2 separate regions of the Homo sapiens genome follow, and region 2 is linked to region 1. Evidence: promoter capture Hi-C in human tissues and cell types (Jung and others, 2019). All regions are on one chromosome and are shown on one strand. The core of a region is centred on a gene start or on the middle of the fragment in contact, and the rest is flanking DNA. Distances in the headings are between cores, read along the strand shown.

Region 1 (6,236 bases), core at 1-2,500:
CATAAAATTGGACTGCTTGGCAGTTCATGAAGAAACACGAAAGCCCAGAAAACATAACACAAATTTATGAGAATAACTCTTTCCTCCCCAGAGAGGGTAGAGCCAAAAAAGGCCTCATAAGATACCTTCTGCATCACAGCACTAGGGGGCGGTGGGAAATAAGTACAGGACAGTTAAGGAACTGTGAAGCAGGGAGGCCGAGTAGGAAGATAGGGCAGAGGGTAGAAGGGGGCAATACAGTGCTTTGCATTAGAACTATGAAATAGATGATAAATGAAAAGATAAAGTCTGCAAAAAAAAGAGCATCAGACACTATTCCCTTTAATGCTCCACCGGAGAATCCTCTCCATACTTTAGTCAATGCATCTCATTACATTTTATTATCCGGTGACTATTACACAGCTTGATTATGAGCTATCTGAGGACTGGAACTCTCTCGTTCATTTTTGAATTCCTAGAATGTAGCAGAGTCCTTGGTGCATAATGAGCAGTTCAGTAAAGATTTGCAGAAAAACAGAATAAAATACTAACACCACCACCACCACCACTAACACTTAAGTGAGCACTAAACTGTGTGCCAGGCATTGTTTTACCTGCTTGACCTGTGGTAATTTATTTAAAAAACGAGAAGGGCTGGGCACGATGGCTCAGGCCTGTAGTCCCAGCACTTTGGGCCAACATGGTGAAACCCCACCTCTACTAAAAACACAAAAATTAGTCGGGCGTGGTGGCGGGCGCCTGTAATCCCAGCCCCTTGGGAGGCTGAGGTAGGAGAATCGCTCGAGCCCGGGAGGCAGAGGTTGCGGTGAGCCGAAATCAAGCCACTGCACTCCAGCCTGGGTGACAGACGGAGCCTGTCTCAAAAAACAAACAAAACCTCCCAAGGAACAAAACCAACCACGAACACTGAAGCTATCAATAAAGTTTTTCTCTCTAGCGCTCCAAACTAGCCACAGCGCGCATGCTCACGCTCACGTGGCACGCTCGGGCGGCCTCTTCCACTTCCCTTGCCCCGTCCCTGCACAGATCCAGGCTGTCTCTTGCGGTGCGCATGCACCTACCGTATCGTTATCAACGTCTCCGAGGCAGATTGCGTGCGGGAAGAGGCTCCCGCTGAACTCCAGCGCCACGCGCTGCACGTAGCTAACTGACCTCATGGCACCTCCAAGAGCAGAGGGAGCGGAGAGGCCCAGTAAATATTCCCTGAACCCCCGTCGCGACAGCCGCCAGAGCGGAAGGCCACCTAAGGCAGCAAGTTACGTCACTGCCTGAACCTCCAATCTCTGCCTCTTCCTCCTTTAACCTTACAGAGGAGGCGGGTCTTCCGGGCTTGGAGGCGGGCTTCCCAACTCTGATGTGAGTGACAGGCCCACGGGCCACTCCTTTTCTCCACAGGGCTGCAGACCGTGGGTAAACCAACCCTGACGGGGGTCGATCTGTTCCCTTGGCAACAGGGCTCCCAAGGGCTTGACCTAATAACCTTGACCTTTTTCCTTTGTTTCCCTGGCAATGAAGATTCCTAGCCATCAGACCATTCCTGAGAATCTTACTAATCTTCGTAATAACTGATAATTGCATGGTTTTGAAAAGTGTTTTTAAAAAACTACCCATTAGGAGTGAAAACAATGTAGTGAGTTGCAATCAGCATATAAAAAATTAAATACAATAGTAATATACCAAGTGACTCCCAGGTAGTAAGGTAAGTACAGTTTTTGTGAAACTCTTGTTTCAATTGTATATACTTATATGTGTATACTGGCTTATAATGTAAAAAAAATTTTTTTTTTCAGTGTATGTGTTTTCTGGTCAATAGTTTAAAAGCCACCTGCTGCAAAGCACATTTCACATATTTCACATAATTAGTTCAGCCACTATGCGAGCTTTTTTTTTTTTTGGCTGAGGAAAACAGGTTCAGCAAGATTAAGTAAAATGGCAGAAGGAAGGATTGTGGGGCGGGGTGCGTGCTCAAACCAGAATTGTTTGATCCCAAACCCTAGGGCCTCTCCATCATTTACTATCATAGTTCGTAGGAGAGTCTTCAGGCTGGAAGTGAAGGTTGCCTGGATTCCGGATCTGCTCTGTCTTGTGGCCCCCCAGCACAAAGCTCTTGCATCTCAACCTCAGTAGCCTTACTCTTGTAGCACAGATGGGACTGTCACTCTCATGGCTGGCTTCTTGGGATACTTTCTTTCCATGTTGAATCCAGTTCTGCCTTTCTTTGGGGTGCCTCGTCAATCAGGGCAATATTTATGAAATCATACAGGTGTTCAATACATTTTTAGATTTAGGTCTAAAAACCCAGGCTGACTCGCACTTGGTGTTTCAAAAAAAAAAAAAAAATGATTCTACCTTATCTGGGATTTTGGACCAGGGGCTGTTCCTTTTTATCTTTTTTTTTTTTATTTTTATTTTTATTTTTTTTTGAGACAGAGTCTCGCTCTGTTGCCCAGGCTGTAGTGCAGTGGCGCAATCTCGGCTCACTGCAACCTCTGCCTCCCAGGTTCAAGCAGTTCTCCTGCCTCAGCCTCCCGAGTAGCTGAGACTACAGGCGAGCGCCACCACGCCCAGCTAATTTTTAATTTAATTTAATTTAATTTTTTTTTTTTTTGAGACGGAGTCTCGCTCTGTCACCCAGGCTGGAGTGCAGTGGTGCGATCTCGGCTCGCTGCAAGCTCCGCCTCCCGGGCTCAAGCCATTCTCCTGCCTCAGCCTCCGGAGTAGCTGGGACTACAAGCGCCCGCTACCACTCAAGGAGAATTTTTTGTATTTTTAGTAGAGACGGCGTTTCACCGTGTTAGCCAGGATGGTCTCGATCTCCTGACCTCGTGATCCACCCGCCTCGGCCTTCCAAAGTGCTGGGATTACAGGCATGAGCCACCGGCGCCCGGCCGCCCAGCTAATTTTTGTACTTTTAGTAGAGACGGGGTTTCACCATGTTGGCCAGAATGGTCTTGATCTCTTGACCTCTTGATCTGCCCGCCTCGGCCTCCCAAAGTGCTGGAATTACAGGCGTGAGCCACTGCGCCCGGCCCCTTTTTTCTTTTTCTTTCTTTTTTTTCTTTGAGAGTCTTGCTCTGGAGTGCAGTGGTGCGATCTGGGCTCATTGCAACCTCCGCCTCCCAGGCTCGAGATCTTGTGTCTCAGCCTCCCAGGTAGGTGGGATTACAAGCGTGAGCCACCATGCCCGGCTTGTCCCTACTTTCTATGTCTGTACATAGTGGGAGGAGGCTGGAGGGCAAGACCTTTTCTTGGGGGAAGGGGGTGGCAGATTTTTTCCTAGATGTCCCAGTGGATCTGACAGCCAGGTAAGAAAGAACAGCAGGTCAGAACAGTAAACTGGAGGAAGTCTGGACAAATACTGGAGACTGCAGATATATTCTGAAGCTGAACTGTGTTACAAGTTCATATTTCTGGTTGTGTACTGTGGGATGGCCAGGTCCATTAAAAGGCACTGGGTCCCACAGGTATTCCTGGTGCTTTGAATACATTTTCTCATTTACAGAGCAGTTGCATGCTCCCTCACCCCGTGTTCTACCCCATCTCTATTCTCTCATCCTAGTTCAAATCCTAAGCTTCATATTAGGCCTTTAAGGGGTGGGAAAACCAAAACCAGTATCAAAATGTTCACCTCTAGGTTGGCTGTGGAGGCTCATGCCTGTAATTCCAGCACTTTTGGAGACTGAGGCAGGCAGATCACTTGAGCTCAGGAGTTCAAGACCAGCCTGGACAACATGGCAAAACCATGACTCCACCAAAAATGCAAAAATTAGCTGGGCATAGTGGTGCATGCCTGTGGTCCCAGCTACTCAGGAGGCTGAGGCGGGAAGATCTCCTGAGCCCAAGAGGCAGAGGTTGCAGTGAGCCAAGGTGGTGTCACTGCACTCCAGGCTGGGTGAAAGTGAGACTCTGTCTCCAAAAAAAAAAAAAAAAAAAAAACTTTACCTCTGAAATGGTTTTTTCTTTCTTTCTTTCTTTTTTTCTGAGGCAGTCTCCCTCTGTCACCCAGGCTGGAGTGCAATGACACGATCTCGGCTCACTGCAACCTCCGCCTCCCGGGTTCAAGCGATTCTCCTGCCTTAGCCTCCTGAGTAGCTGGGACTACAGGAGACTGCCACCACGCCCAGCCAATTGTTTTTGTATTTTTAGTAGAGACGGGGTTTCACCATATTGGCCAGGCTGGTCTTGAACTCCTGACCTTGTGATCTGCCTGCCTCGGCCTCCCAAAGTGCTGAGATTATAGGCATGAGCCACCACGCCCGGCCTCTGAAGTGGTTTTAAAAAAATATATTACTAAATAACTCAGAACAAGAGATGAGATCACCCAGCTTCTTTCATCAGGTGCCTTGGCCTGACCCAGTTATCTAAGATCAGACCCCAACCCAGGATTCCCCAGTGCCTTAGTTTTATCTTCCTCATCATTTGGGTTTCTTGGTCTGGATCTTTCTGTGACACGGGGTGTCTGTTTTTAATTGTAGAATATGTTTGCCATGAAGGTCATGTAATTATGATCACAACTTCTTTTTTACTTTTTTTTTTTTTTGAGATGGAGTCTCGCTCTGTCGCCTAGGCTGAGTGCAGTGGCACGATCTCAGCTCACTGCAAGCTCTGCCCTCCGGGTTCACGCCATTGTCCTGCCTCAGCCTCCCGAGAAGCTGAGACTACAGGCACCCGCCACCACACCCGGCTAATTTTTTGTATTTTTAGTAGAGAATGGGTTTCACTGTGTTAGCCAGGATGGTCTCAATCTCCTGACCTCATGATCCACCCACCTCAGCCTCCCAAAGTGCTGGGATTACAGGCGTGAGCCACTGTGTCTGGCCTTCTTTTTCACTTTTTTGAGTTTCACTCTTCTTGCCCAGGCTGGAGTGCAATGGTGCGATCTTGGCTCACCGCAACCTCCGCCTCCCGGGTTCAAGCGATTCTCCTGCCTCAGCCTCCCGAGTAGCTGGGATTACAGGTGTCCACGACCATGCCCAGATAATTTTTTTTGTAGTAGAGACAGGGTTTCACCATGTTGGCCAGGCTGGTCTTGAACTCTTGACCTCAGGTGATCAAAGTGCTCGGCCTCCCAAAGTGCTGGGATTACAGGCCACCATGCCTAGACGTATGATCACAACTTCTATACCACACTTTTTGGCTTTTGTCAAGAGAGCCAAATAAAGTTAGGCAGGAAAGATAGGTCTCCAAGAAATAGGGCACAAGTGAAGTCCTTCCATGCCTGTGCCTCTCCCCACCTTGCATCAGTTACTTTAAGTCCAGTGAGTGTTTTGTATGACTAGGCATTGTCAAGCCATATGGACAGATCCCTGGCTCCACAAAGAGCACTCCTGGTCTTGGCCCCTTTCTAGTTGGAAGGTTGCTAGGTCTCTTTGGGCACCATCTAAACTCCATCTTGTCTAAGCCAAGCACTCTTTCTGCTGGTTTTTGTCTTGCTCCCCAAAACTGTCTAATTAGGGTATCTTCCTGGTTAGGTGACATGGATACAGTTATATGAGTGGCATATTCTTTACAAACAATAGAAATCTCCATAGGAGGGGATGGGGGGATTAAGTGGGGAGCGTTTCTTTCTTTTTTTTTTTTTTTAAGATGGAGTCTTACTCTGTCGCTCAGGCTGAAGTGCAGTGGCGCGCTCTTGACTCACTGCAAGCTCCACCTCCCAGGTTCACACCATTCTCCTGCCTCAGCCTCCCCAGTAACTGGGACTACAGGCTCCCGCCACCACACCCAGCTAATTTTTTTTTTGTGTGTGTATTTTTAGTAGAGACGGGGTTTCACCGTGTTAGCCAGGATGGTCTTGATCTCCTGACCTCGTGATCCGCCTGCCTTGGCTTCCCAAAGTGATGGGATTACAGGCGTGAGCCACTGCGCCCAGCCAGTGGGAAGCATTTCTAGGAAGATTCTTTGTGTACTTCATCCTCCAACAGTAGACAGAATGGTTTGTGTTTGCCCAGGGTGCCCAGGTAAGAAACAGGGTCTCCAAGTATCTTTCAAAACATGAGGCCCAGAGCCTCACCACCTTGGGGGCAGGGTCCATGGCTTCTCAATGGGCTTGGTTTGGCTTATATCACCATTTCCCCCTCCCCTCTCTCATTCATGGTACACCTTAGCATATTAAACTGTTGGAAAAGTTAGGTTTTTTGTCCTAGAAACTGGCAGAGTAGTGTGGGGCAGCTCTGCACCGGGTGAAATGCTGTTATTCAGAGCTCTACTAAGTCTCACTGCCTTCCTCAAGTTTG
Region 2 (6,236 bases), core at 757-3,256, 1.2 Mb after region 1:
TTAAAACACAGAGTCAATCCCAGACCCCACCCCAAATTGACTCAATCAGAATCTCAAGGCCTGGGCCCTAGGAATCTGATGTTTTTTCAATAGAGACAAGGTCTTACTATGTTGCCCAGGCTGGCCTCAAACCCCTGAACTCAAATGATTCTCCTGCCTCAGCCTCCCAAAGTGCTAGAATTCTAGGCGTGAGTCACGGTGGCTGGCAGACTCTGAATTTTTAAATCTCCCCAGATGATTTGATTTAGCCAGATGAAGGGATGGAACCAGTGCCTAGAATGCATGAGCTCCCTCCTTACCAGCACCACAAAAGGGGAAAAAACCCACCTCTGTCCCCACTGCCACACATTAGGTAGCACTTGAGACTCCTCAGACCGAGGTAGCCAGGTGCAGCCCAAGCTCTGCGCCACACCCAGTCACCCTCCCTCTCCCATAACATATGAACACCTCCTCCCATCACCTGGGCTCATTTTTCTCTGAGCAGGTAGAGACTGTGGGGCCATGAGGAGTCCCAAGAGCTGCTCATTCCACCTCTCTCATCTAAGACCCACATCCCTCCACTCCCCTGCTCTGAACCCAGAAGCCCCAGGCGGGAGCTGAGTCACAGAAAGACAGGAGTCACTGCTCCTTCCCTTGCCTCCTCGGTGGGTACACCAGGAAGCGAGCACTGCATTCTCCTATGGAATCCCAATACCTGCTTCTGCTTCCTACCTTCTGTCCCAGCAGAGCCTCTGGTAGAGTCCCCTGTTCCAGCACGACATGCAGTTTCAGTGCTGTGCCTGGTGGGACTGCATCGCCAGCATGTCACAGGGCCAGGGCCACACTGAGTTTAGGGATGGGGCCTTTGAGAAGCTGAAAACATGTCACTTAATTCAAATATATTTACGGTTGTCTCCTTGTGATAGGAATTATGCATTTGTGATGGAGTTGAGTCCTGGCACAGAGATCAAGAGGCCGGAAGAGCAGATTGGAAAAGGGAGTTCAGAAGCTTAGTCCATGGTCCTGTCCGCTCAAGATCAGACATGCTTGGAGCTCTGCTGAATTTTAATCTTCACTCTTATTCAAAACCATTGACTCCTAACGCCTGGGAAAGCCAGTGGAGAGAGGGCTTCCCTCTGAGTAAATTCGAGGGAAGCATGTGGTAGAGAATACCCATGGCTGTCTTGTAAAATGAAGCCCCCAGGCACCAGCTCTAAATTCCCTACCGAATGTGACTTACTCATCTAGTTCCATCGTCCAAGGCCCCAGTTTTCTCTTTGCTTCAATATGTACATCAATATACTATCTTCAACTTTTGTAGCATTTTCTATGCTGTTTAGCCCTGTATGCATTATCTGTTTCCTTTTTTTTTTTTTTTTTTTTTTGAGACAGGGTCTCACTGTAACCCCAGGCTGGAGTGCAGTGGCACGATGATGGTTCACTATAGCCTTGAACTCCTAGGCTCAAGCAATCCTCCCACCTCACCCCCGGCCAGTAGCTGGGACTACAGGTATGTGCCACCATGCCTGGTTTTTTTTTTATACAGGGTCTCACTGTTACCCAGGCTGGAAGGAATGCAGTGGCGTGATCATGGCTCACTGCAGCCTCGAACTCTTGTGCTCAGGTGATCCTCCCACTTTTGCCTCCTGAGTAGCTGGGACTACAGGCAGGCACCACCATGCCCAGCTAATTTTTTGTGTTTTTTTAATAGAGACAGGGTCTCACTATGTTGCCCAGGCTGGTCTCGAACTCCTAGACTCATGCAATCCGTCTACTTCAGCCTCCCAAAGGGCTGGGATTACAGGCATAAGCCACTGCATTCAGCCTTTTTTTTTTTTTTTTTTTTTTTTTTGTGGAAACAGGGTCTCACTGTGTTGCTCAGGCTGGTTCAAACTCCTGGTCTCAAGTGATCCCCCTGCCTCAGCACCCCCAAAATCTTGGGATTGCAGGCATGAGCCACCGCACCTTGCCTGTTTACTTTAGATTTGGGATCCCCAAGTTCCCCCTGCCATATGCCCCTACCAAATGAAATCTCTCTAGTCACTCTTCTCATTCAACATTCATGGTGGCAAGACGAGGAAGATTATTGTACACTCCCTGAGACTTAGAAGGAAATGGGCACCTGTTATTTCAGCTGACCAGATTCCTTACCCAGAAATCCACCTGAAAGAGGTCTGGAGTCAGCATGAATTACTAGCTGTGTGAGGTGAGGGATGCCGCTTCACCACTCTGAGTGTTAGCTTTCCCATCTGAAACACGTGGATAATATTGGCTACACTGCAGAGGCCCTGAGAGGATTACATGTAATGTATGTAAAGCAGCTGGTACACAGTAGTACTCAATAAATGGTAGCTATAATTATTACTCACCTCCTTCATCATAATCTTCAAGCATGAAAAGTACTGTGGGTGTCTTGAGGGTCCAGCCGAGCAGGACAAGGCATTCCTTTCATGTTTTCTTTCCTAACTGCATTGCCCTCCTCACTCATTCTTTTAAAACTAAGTAAAATAAGACTGACCTAATTCTTCCCACATTTATCCAAATGAAAAATCTAGAACTCAGCTTTGCTGCTCTCCAGATTCTGTTTTCTGCCATCAATCCGCAAGGACACACCACCCAACTTTTTTTTAAATTTACAATTTTTTTTTGAGACAGAGCCTTGCTCTGTCGCCCAGGCTGGAGTGCAGTGGCATGGTCTCCACTTACCACAACCTCTCCCTCCCAGTTCAAGCGATTCTCCTGCCTCAGCCTACTCAGTAGCTGGGATTACGGGGGTGCAGGCTACCACACCTGCCTAATTTTTTTGTATTTTTAATAGAGATAGGGTTTCACCTTGTTGGCCAGGCTGGTCTCGAACTCCTGACCTCAAGTGATCCCCCCCCCCCCCCGCTTCGGCCTCCCAAAGTGCTGGGATTACAGGTGTGAGCCACCGCGCCCAGCCAAAAAAAAAAAAAAAAAAATGTTTTTTTGAACCAAGGTGCGGGCCAGAGCTATTCGGCTAGAACTGAGAAGATAGCGACACTGTGTGGTCACATGCAGAACTGCAGACCAGTCTGGAGTGGGTTCCAGGCTGATCATTTGCTCCGACCTAAGGCCGTGATATCTGTCAGATGAGACGTTAGGTCCATTAAAAAGTTTACTTGCATGTTAGAAAATAAAATGAGGAAGGAAACATAGCACCTAAAAAGCGTGAGTGTAATTATTTCCTATTTCACAGACGTGTCCTGCCTGTCATAGCATTCAAGGTCTATATGGCTTTTGCTGTCAAAACAAAAAGGACAAAAGAAGGCCAGCCACAGGGCGTAAGTCAGTTTTCTTTCTTTCTTTCTTTCTTCTTTTTGAGACAGAGTTTCGCTGTATTTGCCCAGGCTGCTGGAGGTGCAATGGTGCCATCTCAGCTCACTGCCACCTCCGCCTCCCGGGTTCAAGCGATTCTCCTTGCCTCAACCTCCCAAGTAGCTGGGATTACAGGCACCCACCACCACGCCCGGCTAATTTTTGTATTTTTTAGTAGAGACGGGGTTTCACCATGTTGGCCAGGCTGGTCTCGAACTCCTGACCTCAGGTGATCCGCCTGCCTTGGCCTCCCAAAGTGCTGGGGTTACAGGCGTGAGCCACCACACCCGGCTGTAAGTCAGTTTTCAAATGCCTGCTGGGTGCCCCCAAGAGCCGTGGAAGATTTGCAGAAACATCCTGGCAACCCTTACCCCTCTCAGGTCTTACTTTTTGGCATGCTCAGACCTTGAAGAATGAGGAAAATGTATGAAGGAAGCAATTGATACTGTAGAGTGGTCCTGTCAGAGGGAAGATACCTTTAAATCATCCACAGGGATGACTGGCCTTCAAATACAGCTCAGTATTGAAAAATGAATGCACCTGCAGGGCAGAATACCAGCCAGGGGCTGTCACTGACTCTAGTCTATTCTCTGCTTCTTAGCAACTTGGCTGCCTGAACCCTGCAAGGTAGATGAATGGGTGTGTGTCCTATCCTGGGTTATTCAGAGAACAGAAGCCTTCCTCTTCACACTAGTGGGCTCAGGTTTTTCCTTATTTTAGACAATCCTCAGGACTTGTTCCATAATTATGCATTTTCACAGATAAAAGACTCCTCAGTAAAGCTATCATGAGAATTTCCAGAGTAAATACTTAGGGGTCTCATTCACACCAACTGGATTATGTGTTCTCTGGATCTAACCATCCGCCGAGAAATTTATGAGAACGTGAGCAGTTCCTCTCACCTTGATGAGTTCTTCAGCCCCTCCACTCATTGACTTGAACTGCTGCAAAGTCATGCAATGGTGGACAGAGCCCTGACCAGAAGCCCCTCCTGGGAATCTGGGACAAGGACCAGGAGAGATTCAGAGTCCCTTCCTGGGGCTGGAACTGTGAGAGAGAGAGAGAGAGAGAGAGAGAGAGAGAGAGAGACCTCAGAGGAGAGAGGAGGAAGGGAGAGGGATCCAGAGGTGTCCAGGTCAGCTCCTGAAGACCCTGGCGTCTTTGAGACTCTTGGGACCCTCATGTCATACTCCTTCTTCATAATCTGACTCAAATTGGTTTCTATTACTTGCAATTTTGATAGAACAAATGATATGATGGACCACGCAGTTAATCACATTATGCCTCAGTTTCCTTGTCTGTTCATGAAGAAACATCATTCATTCATTCACTCAGCAAATATCTATTGAGTGCTTTCTTTGTGCTAGGCACTGTTGTGGGTGATGGCAGACATAGCAGGGAACAAAAGAGGTATCAAAACTTCCCTTATGAAACGTAACTGCTGCTAAGAAGTCTCTGGAAATAAATATACGAAAGACGTAACTTCCAAATCAGGGACCAGCCGAAGAGCTGGCTGACCCAACAGGCAGAGCACCAATATGGAATGAGGCCAGGGTCACTTCAAACAGTACTCACTCCTTTTGGCTTTACAGTGAGATTGGATCAAAAGGGTTCACCTTTTCTATAGTGTCTGTTCTTTCACGTCTTTCCTTGGGTCCCTGCTGAAGTCCCCTCCTGATATTCTGCTGAAAGCCTCCCCACCACCCGGTTTCCACACCAGCAAACCCTCTCTTGCCCCGAGTGATTTGAGTCTGTTTCTTTCTCTCTCTTTCTCTCTCTCTGTCAATACTGCAGTTTCCTTCTGGCTTTGGCTGTGAGCAGCTTTCAGTCTATTTTCAGTTCTCCTGTGGAGCAGCAGATAATACACATACATCTGTAATTCTTAAAATCTCATTGGAACCATCCCTCCTCCCACCCAGTTGTTTATCACAACGACTTAGAAGGCCTAAATTAACTGATTCAGCTCTGTCTTCTACTGCTGCTTCTGGTAGGGCTGCAAATGAGCAGCATGAAGACCAAAAGGCCTGCAGCAAGAGGGAGGAAGCAAGGACTGGAGAATCTACGTGAGGAATGCCCAAACTCTGCAACAAGCTAGAAAATTAACTGTGGATGGCTTCAGTCTTCCACACTGCCTGACGTCTGATCCTCACTGCTGGGCCCAAATCTTCTTACTTCAGAGAAAAATGGGCAAGCTCCCATACTTCTTATGTAAAACCAGAATTAAAGCACCCACCCTTTACTTACTGTTTTAGTATAAACACAATGCAGAGATTCTTACATAATAAAGAACTAACAGTAACACTTAGCAACCATGGCTCACAGCCCTTCTCAGCTCCCCAACATTCCTTCTAGAGATATGAAGCCTGTCATCACCAGCCAGGCAGAGGACAAACATTTCCAATAAAGATAGACAACCCAGGCTCTGCAACGTCTCAGCCAGAAGTGTTGAGTTGTTTTTAATTTTTTACATACTCCATGCCTCTGGTGCCTCTCCACCTCCACCCCCAAATTAATGAAAAATACTCATTTCCAGACACACACATAGAGAGACACACACACACACACACACACACACACACACACACACACAGAGGTTCTCCCAAAATCCACCTGCCCAGTGTCAGTGGTGTCTGGCAATGGAGCAGAGTGTTTCAGATGGAAACACTATTTTCCACACTCTCGGGGTGGTGTGGCTCTCTGCCAAGGAATAGGCTTGTCTGATAAGCTACTGCATCTGTAAGATCTCTATCTCATGGAGGACATCTTGCTAGTTCCTAAAACTGCAGGGGATGACGGAGCTTAAATACGATACTAATGATTAAAGAGAGGAAGCAGGGCAGAATTTCCAAGGCAATAGCCAATTTGAGGTTTCAATACAAAGAGCAAGTTTTGTTTCTCACCTCAAAGGATGGAGAGTGGAA

Evidence for each region. The method cuts DNA at HindIII sites, captures the fragments that hold promoters and counts their contacts. A contact is called where the count stands out against the background at its distance.
Region 2: a fragment that was not itself captured here is called in contact with the fragment with the promoter of ITFG2 in region 1 in 1 of the 25 tissues and cell types used here (spleen).

What each region holds. Positions count from the first base shown.
Region 1 is chr12:2,807,682-2,813,917 of GRCh38, reverse strand. It overlaps ITFG2 (integrin alpha FG-GAP repeat containing 2), which reads right to left and starts at 1,250. Exons shown (of 12, transcript NM_018463.4): 1 at 1,062-1,250. The coding sequence starts at 1,157. ITFG2-AS1 (ITFG2 antisense RNA 1) reads left to right here and starts at 994. Exons shown (of 4, transcript NR_146317.1): 1 at 994-1,356. RefSeq lists enhancers at 974-1,223, 954-1,703 and a silencer at 1,334-1,423. The HindIII fragment of the contact is 16,489 bases long and covers 1-5,940 here.
Region 2 is chr12:1,649,772-1,656,007 of GRCh38, reverse strand. No RefSeq gene overlaps it. Among named protein-coding and RNA genes, the nearest start is that of MIR3649, 7.5 kb to the left of the region's middle. The HindIII fragment of the contact is 3,937 bases long and covers 38-3,974 here.